Regions from separate parts of the Homo sapiens genome. Here region 1 is linked to region 2. The links are contacts of gene promoters, found by promoter capture Hi-C in blood cells and fetal thymus (Javierre and others, 2016). All regions are on one chromosome and are shown on one strand. Each heading gives the region's core, a stretch centred on a gene start or on the middle of the fragment in contact. The rest is flanking DNA. Distances are from core to core; before and after follow the strand shown.

Evidence for each region. The method cuts DNA at HindIII sites, captures the fragments that hold promoters and counts their contacts. A CHiCAGO score of 5 or more calls a contact.
Region 1: a fragment that was not itself captured here is called in contact with the fragment with the promoter of LCLAT1 in region 2 in 1 of 17 cell types (non-activated CD4 T cells); the score reaches 6.5 in non-activated CD4 T cells.

What each region holds. Positions count from the first base shown.
Region 1 is chr2:30,233,515-30,237,171 of GRCh38, forward strand. It overlaps LBH (LBH regulator of Wnt signaling pathway), which reads left to right. Exons shown (of 3, transcript NM_030915.4): 2 at 891-993. Among named protein-coding and RNA genes, the nearest start is that of LBH, 3.8 kb to the left of the region's middle. RefSeq lists a silencer at 2,715-2,922. The HindIII fragment of the contact is 4,276 bases long and covers 1-3,657 here.
Region 2 is chr2:30,445,319-30,448,866 of GRCh38, forward strand. LCLAT1 (lysocardiolipin acyltransferase 1) reads left to right here and starts at 1,928. Exons shown (of 6, transcript NM_001002257.3): 1 at 1,928-2,065. RefSeq lists enhancers at 1,618-2,355, 1,659-1,728, 1,769-1,828, 2,039-2,158, 2,356-3,092. The HindIII fragment of the contact is 6,952 bases long and covers 1-3,548 here.

The DNA.
Region 1 (3,657 bases), core at 455-2,954, 210 kb before region 2:
GTGGAAAGCATTGGGTGCTGTGTAGCAGGTACCTGTATTTGGTGCTTATGTTCAGCATTATGTGCACGGGATCCTGTATGTGCCCAGAGTTTGTGCAAGGATAAGGGAATATTCGTATCCTGCTTAGAGAGTACAAGGCACTTTCACATGTCAGCCATTGGTGGGCCAGCTTGGCCCCTCTGGAAATTTCCTTTGCAGTCAGAGTCGGGTATCCTTAAGGCTTTTAATCCAGGGGATGTTTTTCAAGCTGTGAGCATGCAGCTGCTGTGTCTGGGGCTAGAGAAAGGGGATGGATGGCAGATGTGAAACTTGCAGAAAAGCTGACCCCTTGGGGCTTTAAGTGGAACATTTTGCCAAAAGGAGCACCAGAGAGACAAATTTAGGAAAGCTGTATGATTGGACTTTGTTTCCCTCCAGTTGACCTGTTATTGTTATTGTGTATTAATAATATATAGAGTTCCCCTTTGGAAAGTTCATGTGAGGATTATTTTTATTCTTAGTTGGAGAAGTGAAGGGAGATGTGGTTGAATTGGTTTTAATATAGACAGATGGACTCAGCTACCTACTGTTTTGGTTTCTCTGGTTCTGTCATTTAAAGAAACATTCAGGGTCCCTCTGTGCCAGTGGGGACTAGAGTACAGGAGAGGAGGGAAGAGGTTTGCCAGAGAGGTCTGCAGACAATGGGCTTTGTCTGTTGCGGCTGAGCCCTGGGGCTGTGGGCTTGCAAGGCGCTTCCTCAGGGTGTGAGCTTGTTTTGCTGCAAGTTCTGTTTTGAACACCTCTCTTCCTGTCTCCAGACAGTCCCCTGATCCCACAGCAGTGAATGCATGAAGAGTTAGGAATGTGAAAGCGCGTGTGTTTGTTGACTTTTGGTCTGGGTTTCTTGGCAGCCCCGACTATCTGAGATCGGCCAAGATGACTGAGGTGATGATGAACACCCAGCCCATGGAGGAGATCGGCCTCAGCCCCCGCAAGGATGGCCTTTCCTACCAGGTGAGTAAGTCCTGGCTCCCCTCTGACTCTCTAGAGCCTAGTGGTTTTTGCTGGGGGTGAGGACAGACTTGGTTTTGCATCCCAGTGCCACATATAAGAGCTGTGGGACTGTGGCAGAGTCCCCTAATGCCAGTAAGCCTCAGTTTCTTCATCTGTAAAATGGGGCAACAATCGTCCTTATCTCCTAAGATTGTGGTAAAGATTCACCATGACAAGTGGATGTGTAGGAAGCATTCCTAGTGTCTGGGACAGATAAGGGCTCAGCAAGCATTAGCCATTGTGATGAATTGACCCTACTGGCTCTGTGAACTTTGCCATTCACCGCAGCAAAGGAGGAAATGATTTGTTTAGTCGATTGAGACCAGAACTTTCCTTCCCAGCCATGCCTGGGGTAGTAGAAGCATTGCTGTCGGGGGCTTCTGCAGAAGGGTGGTCTGGTGGGGATAGCCATGTCCAATGCTGCTTTCTTCCTTGGGTTGATTATTGACCTGTTGATTCAGAGTTAACATTCAAACCACTTAGAGAGGAAGATATTTTCCCCAAAGGGAGGCTAGCTCAGGGATGCTATTGCTGGGATCTTGCTTGGAGATCATCCTGTCTGGTGGATCCAAAATGCACAAGGATCACAAAAAGGGACCAGAGTGAGCCCTCTGGACTCTTACCCCAGCCCTCTCTCTGGCTTGCCCTGCTGCCTCTCTACTGCCCCTGGGTTGGGGGTGGGAGCAATGGAGCACCTGCAGTTCCCTCTGGGCTGTGAGCTGGTTTGGGGTTTTGGAGGAGAGTTCCTATGTTGTTAAACTGGGGGGAGGGAGGAGTCTCTTCTTAAGGAAGACCTTGGAGCTAGGGAAGTTGTGTAGGATGGCCAGCCCAGGGAAGTCGAAAGGGAGTGTGATGGGTCCATGGGTCCGTGCTACAGACATGAAGGTATGCCCACTGCACGCCAAGCACTCTACAGACGCTGCCTTGCTCACATCTTACCACAGCTCCCAGGCGGGGATCCTCACCCTGTTCACAGATGAGGAAATGGCTCAGCCTGAGTCAGTGACTTGGGTCTGTCTAACCCCAGAGCCTTGTTCTTCTGATGTATTGTGTGTCCACACCATGGCTTGGTTCCGCTAGGGTCTAGGTTGACTCTGGCTGGTCATTCCTTAGAACTGTTCCAGGGACATTTATTTTGTAAATTAAAAAAAAAAAAAAATCAAATAGAAAGCCAGGGAGCCAGGGTGGGTGCCATGGAGGGAAAGTAATCAGATAGAACCAAGCTAAAAGTTCAGGCAGGGTCACTTAACTTCAGACATGCTTGGGAGGCTAAGGAGGCCCCTTTGTGTTGTCTATATTGGCAGGCCTGTCTTGAAATAAGTAGCCATTAGCTTGAAGGGGGTGTGTGGAGCAAGGGGGAACTCTCTTTGCTACGTTTGACTTTTCTACCCTCCTCCCCCAGAGTGGGTCTGAGGAAGACAATTGAGGGCCCCTCAACCTGGTGGGAGGGGTAGAAGTTTCCTGGCCCACCAGCCAGGGGGTTTTGGGTAGCAGTTTCCAAGCCCCTGAGTCAGAATGAATCTCTTTGTGGTTACAGGTGAGGTTCTCTTTCGGTTCTGGGTTTTAGATTTCCATCACAGAACCTTTCCAAATGCAGTCATCTGTTCATCTTGTGTGTGCTTTTCATATTTTCCTTTTAAATACATCCCAGGATAAAGGGCCAGGCCCTATAGGGCCGTTTTCTCAATGCTTCGAGTCCTTCAGGCCATTCTGCTGGACCTGAGACTCAGGGCAGGTGGTGAGGGAGGAAGGAGCTGGGGGAGGAAGGCCAACCTGGGGCTGCAAGGGCAGCAGGAAAATAAAATCACCTCTGGGTGCCTGACACATCTCAGCACTGCCTGAGCAAAGGATCCACACATCTTCCCTTGTGGTGCTGGACTGAGGGCCCAGTTCTCAGAGCCCCCTCCCAGGAAATCTGTTTCTGCTACCTTGGTGGGGACCACTCCCCAGTTCCAAAATATCTTACTTGGAACTTCAGAGCACTCTGGTCACAATTTTTCACAGCTTTTCTGATTTCAGAAAGGTCTCTTGGTTGCCTGGTGAAGAGGAAAGGGAGATTGTAGTATTTAACCAAGCAACATTTAGGGGCACTTTCCCTGTGCAACCTGCTGTGCTGGCCTCTGTGCCCAGGGTCCAGGGCCCTTGTAAGAACCCAGCATCTACATAAACATCTGGAACACAGGTGGTGCAGTCAGTCCAGGTGGGGGACATACAGAAGCTACAGTGAGTCCAGGCATCGACAGCAACAATGAAATCCAGCCGACAGAATCAGAGGGAGGGCAGACTGGGGCTGGGCTCTGAAAGAAAATTAGGACTTTGAGAGGGCAGTTCCATCTCTAAGGTAATGTTCTTGCACCTTCAGATACCCCTGGGCTTGCCCCTGTTTATGCCAGGGGCAGGGCTGTGCAGTGAGCTGGTCTGACCATTGCGGTGTGACAGATATTCTCCGGGCCCACTCAAAGCTAGTGCCGTCCAATTAGACACATTCCCACCAGAGCTCTGGGGATTGGCTGGGACTGGCACTTGGCTGGAGCCCCTTCCCTTTGCATGCTCAGGCTCGGCTCAGGCCTGGGGGCAGGGGATCTCGGAGCTCTGTTCTTGGCATTCCTCCTAAGGATAATAATA
Region 2 (3,548 bases), core at 678-3,177:
ATGTATCAAAACAAAGAATGATCCTGGTACAATAGCATTATGTAAACTATACATCATTTTGGATGCTGAAGTGGTCCAATGATCTTGGGCACGTCAAGACATTTTCCCCAGAATGAAAAACATGTTACTACACCTTGCACCTCTGCCAAAAAGAAAGAAGCATGACACTTAGCAGATCTCTGAGTTTAGAAATCAGCATATTTTGCCCTTGGGAATTCTGTTCCTATCCCTTTAGCAGTTGACGTGGAAGGTGGCTACTGATCAGTAGCTCAGATCAAGAACGGGCTCAGGGCCAGGCGCGGTGGCTCAAGCCTCTAATCCCAGCACTTTGAGAGGCCAAGGTGGGTGGATAGCTTGAGCTCAGGAGTTCGAGACCAGCCTGGCAACATGTTGAAATCCTGTCTCTACAAAAAACACAAAATTAGCTGGGCATGGTGGCAGATGCCTGTAGTTCCAGTTAGTCTGGAGGCTGAGGTGGGAGGATTGCTTGAGTCCAGGAGGCAGGGGTTGTAGTGGGCCACAATCATGCCACTGCACTCCAGCCTAGGTGACAGAGCGAGACCCTGTCTCAAAAAAAAAAAAAAAAAAAAAAAAAGCAAAGAAAAGAAAAAAGAAAGAGCCCAGCACTGTCCTCTGTGGTTAGGGCGGTAAGGGCAACCTTGCCTCTTGGGCTGTATCACCGGACACACCTCACAATGCTAGAGCTCTCTGCAATGGAGCTGCAAAGGCTATGAGGAACCTCCGGCAAGCCCCCAAAGAACCACAGTAGAGCCCTTGAAGGTTCTGGAGCATAGCCAGGCCAACTCTTAACAACAACAAAAAAGAATTGGGAGATCTTTTATTCCAGTAATCTTATTTTAAAGGTAAAAAGGAGGCCTAAAGTCATAGGCATAATTGGCAGAATTGACTTTTGTTCTGGTGTTTCTCTCTGTAGTCATTCTTCACTTTCTGATGCAATTTTAGCACATCTTAAATATTAAAATGTTTTGGAACAAACTTAGAGAAATTATGAAGCTAATTTAGGAAAAGAGCACAAGAATCTTTGATTTACAGGCAATTTGGGGATATAATTTAGCTATATTGAAGCTATGCAGCCAACATGTAGATGGTCATTATTATTACACCATAAATTTTGTGAGGTCAGGAACCTTGTAATTTTAAAAATATTCACTCTGTGCTTTGTTGAATAAACGGATAAAACGTATAGACATACATGAACTACTGATGAGTGGCTGTGTGTGATGTGTAGCTATGTTTATTATTTTTAAGATTCTTATTGTATTTGTTGAAGGCCAAGTTGAGGAGGGAATTGCTTAAGGGAAATGAAAAGGGGTTTAACCACAGTCCCCACCATTCAGGGGCATGCAATCTAGTAGGTTAGGGGACAGGACAGACACACCATGATAGGTGATCGAGACCTTTTAAGAGCAGTGTGATGAAATTGCTATGGGAACTGGGAGGAAACATTTTCTAGGACTGGGGAAACACTGAGTGTGCTAGAAAAACTTTGTGCTCCTGATCAGGGAACCTGGGTTCTATAACTGCTTCTACTACTGATTTGTCCTGTGACTTCGCGCACCAAATTTAGGCTTGTAAATTAAACTCCCAGATTTCTGTTTTCCATTTTGCAGCTCTAGGGGTTGAATGAACCATTAGGTTCCCTCGGACAAATGACCTCCGCTAATTTCCTATTTCGTTGTTTTCTCACCCCTACACCCCACCGTTCCGTGGGTCCCTCCTCTCCAGGAGGCCAGACGAGGAAATAAGCGAGGCCTCTTTAAAGGAGCTCTCAAAGAAAGGTACCCGGGGTATCCCGGGCTGTGGAGCAAGCGCGGGGCGCCGGGGACCCGGGTTTCCCACGCAGCCGGGGACGCCGTTGCGTCACGGCGCCTGCAGCCAATCAGGACGTAGCCTTCCGGGACGCATTACTAGGGCGACGGCCGGACGCCTCCGCGTTACGGGATGAATTAACGGCGGGTTCCGCACGGAGGTTGTGACCCCTACGGAGCCCCAGCTTGCCCACGCACCCCACTCGGCGTCGCGCGGCGTGCCCTGCTTGTCACAGGTGGGAGGCTGGAACTATCAGGTGGGGTTACGGCGCGAGGAAAATGGCGGCGGCCGGGGGATCTCAGAGGTGCAGGAAGGGGAGCTGCAGCCCGGGCTTTTCCTCCTGAGCCATGGACCTTCCCCGGGCCGCGACCTCGGGTAACGGCCACTGGCCTGGCATTTGGGGTCCCGGTGCAGGTGGCGGTAGCGTCGCTGGCTCAGGTGGAAGGAGGCGCGGGGAAGCGACTCCTGGAGGCTGGCTGAGGCGTCAGGTGCTGAGGGGCCGCGCGAGCGGCGAGGGCGAGGTAGCCGCGGGGCGAAGAGGGTCCCGTCGGTGTTTACGCTAGGAGCGTCAAAACCTTCCTCCTGCGACCTCAGCGGGTCTGGGAGCTGCACTGTCCCGGAACGCAACCTGAGGTCTGACCCTGTTAAATCCCATGCACTAAAACGTCTCAAGTGGTCACCACGTGCGGGGCTTCGACGAGAGCCGTGGAGAGCAGGGGCTGGGGTTGTCTTCCCTGCGAGTCCTGCAGGCGCCAAAGGCCTGCCTGTAGGTGCCAGAGTGGCAGTGCCGCGAAAAGAAAGGTAGGCCCTAGCCAGGGCGGATGCCAAACCTGATCTTTAAGGTGTATCGTAGCTTCTAATTGCCCATTTGAAGAAAAGAAGTTGAAAGATAAGGCACTTAGATGTGGTTGTGGAGATGTTTTGCTTTCTTGTACTTCCCTGGTTCAGGTGGCTTCCCTGGAAATACTGCATCTGCCTTTAAAGTTCATTAACTGTGTTTCTTGTGTACATGGCAGTAGATGAGATTAGGGATTGAAGTCACTTTAAGTCCAAGAAAAGTATTGAAGATATGTGTTGAAGGCATTACCAAGATGAAATATTTATTCATATCATTAACTTATTTGTTCAAAGAAACGTCATCTCATGAAGTATAACTACGTGGGTTAGTTTTCAAAAAACTGACTTGATGAAAGCCCTTTTTGTAAAACATATTTTTTGAGAGTAAGTAAAAATACATCATCACTTTTTCGTTTAGGTTTCTGTTGCACATTGTACTTTGATATGCTTGATATGACAGATAAGCATAATGTTAACTGACTTTTGTTTTTGGTAGTAGGCTTGATTTTATGGAGTAGTACCTTGTTCTGTAACTGAGAAAAACGTAATAGCGCTTGTGTTTCAGTCATCAATAGCTGCAATCTCTGGAGTGCCAACTATGTGTCAGTTTCTGTGAAAGCTAGGCTTCTCCTACTTTTTAATTTGAACACATGGTCGTCTGCATCTGCCCCCACCAGGTCTTTAGGCTGGCTGTTGCTGACAACCAGGAGGAAGCAATGGGGAAAACCCAAAAGATTCTTCCAAACTGGATCCATGGAGATTTGGTCAGTTTGTCCTGGGGTTGAGGTTATGGGTGGATTCTAGTCCAAACTCTGCCACTTAAAAATATCTTAGGGTAATCATACAACTTCACTATTGGTGTCTTATCTCTAAAGTGAGTA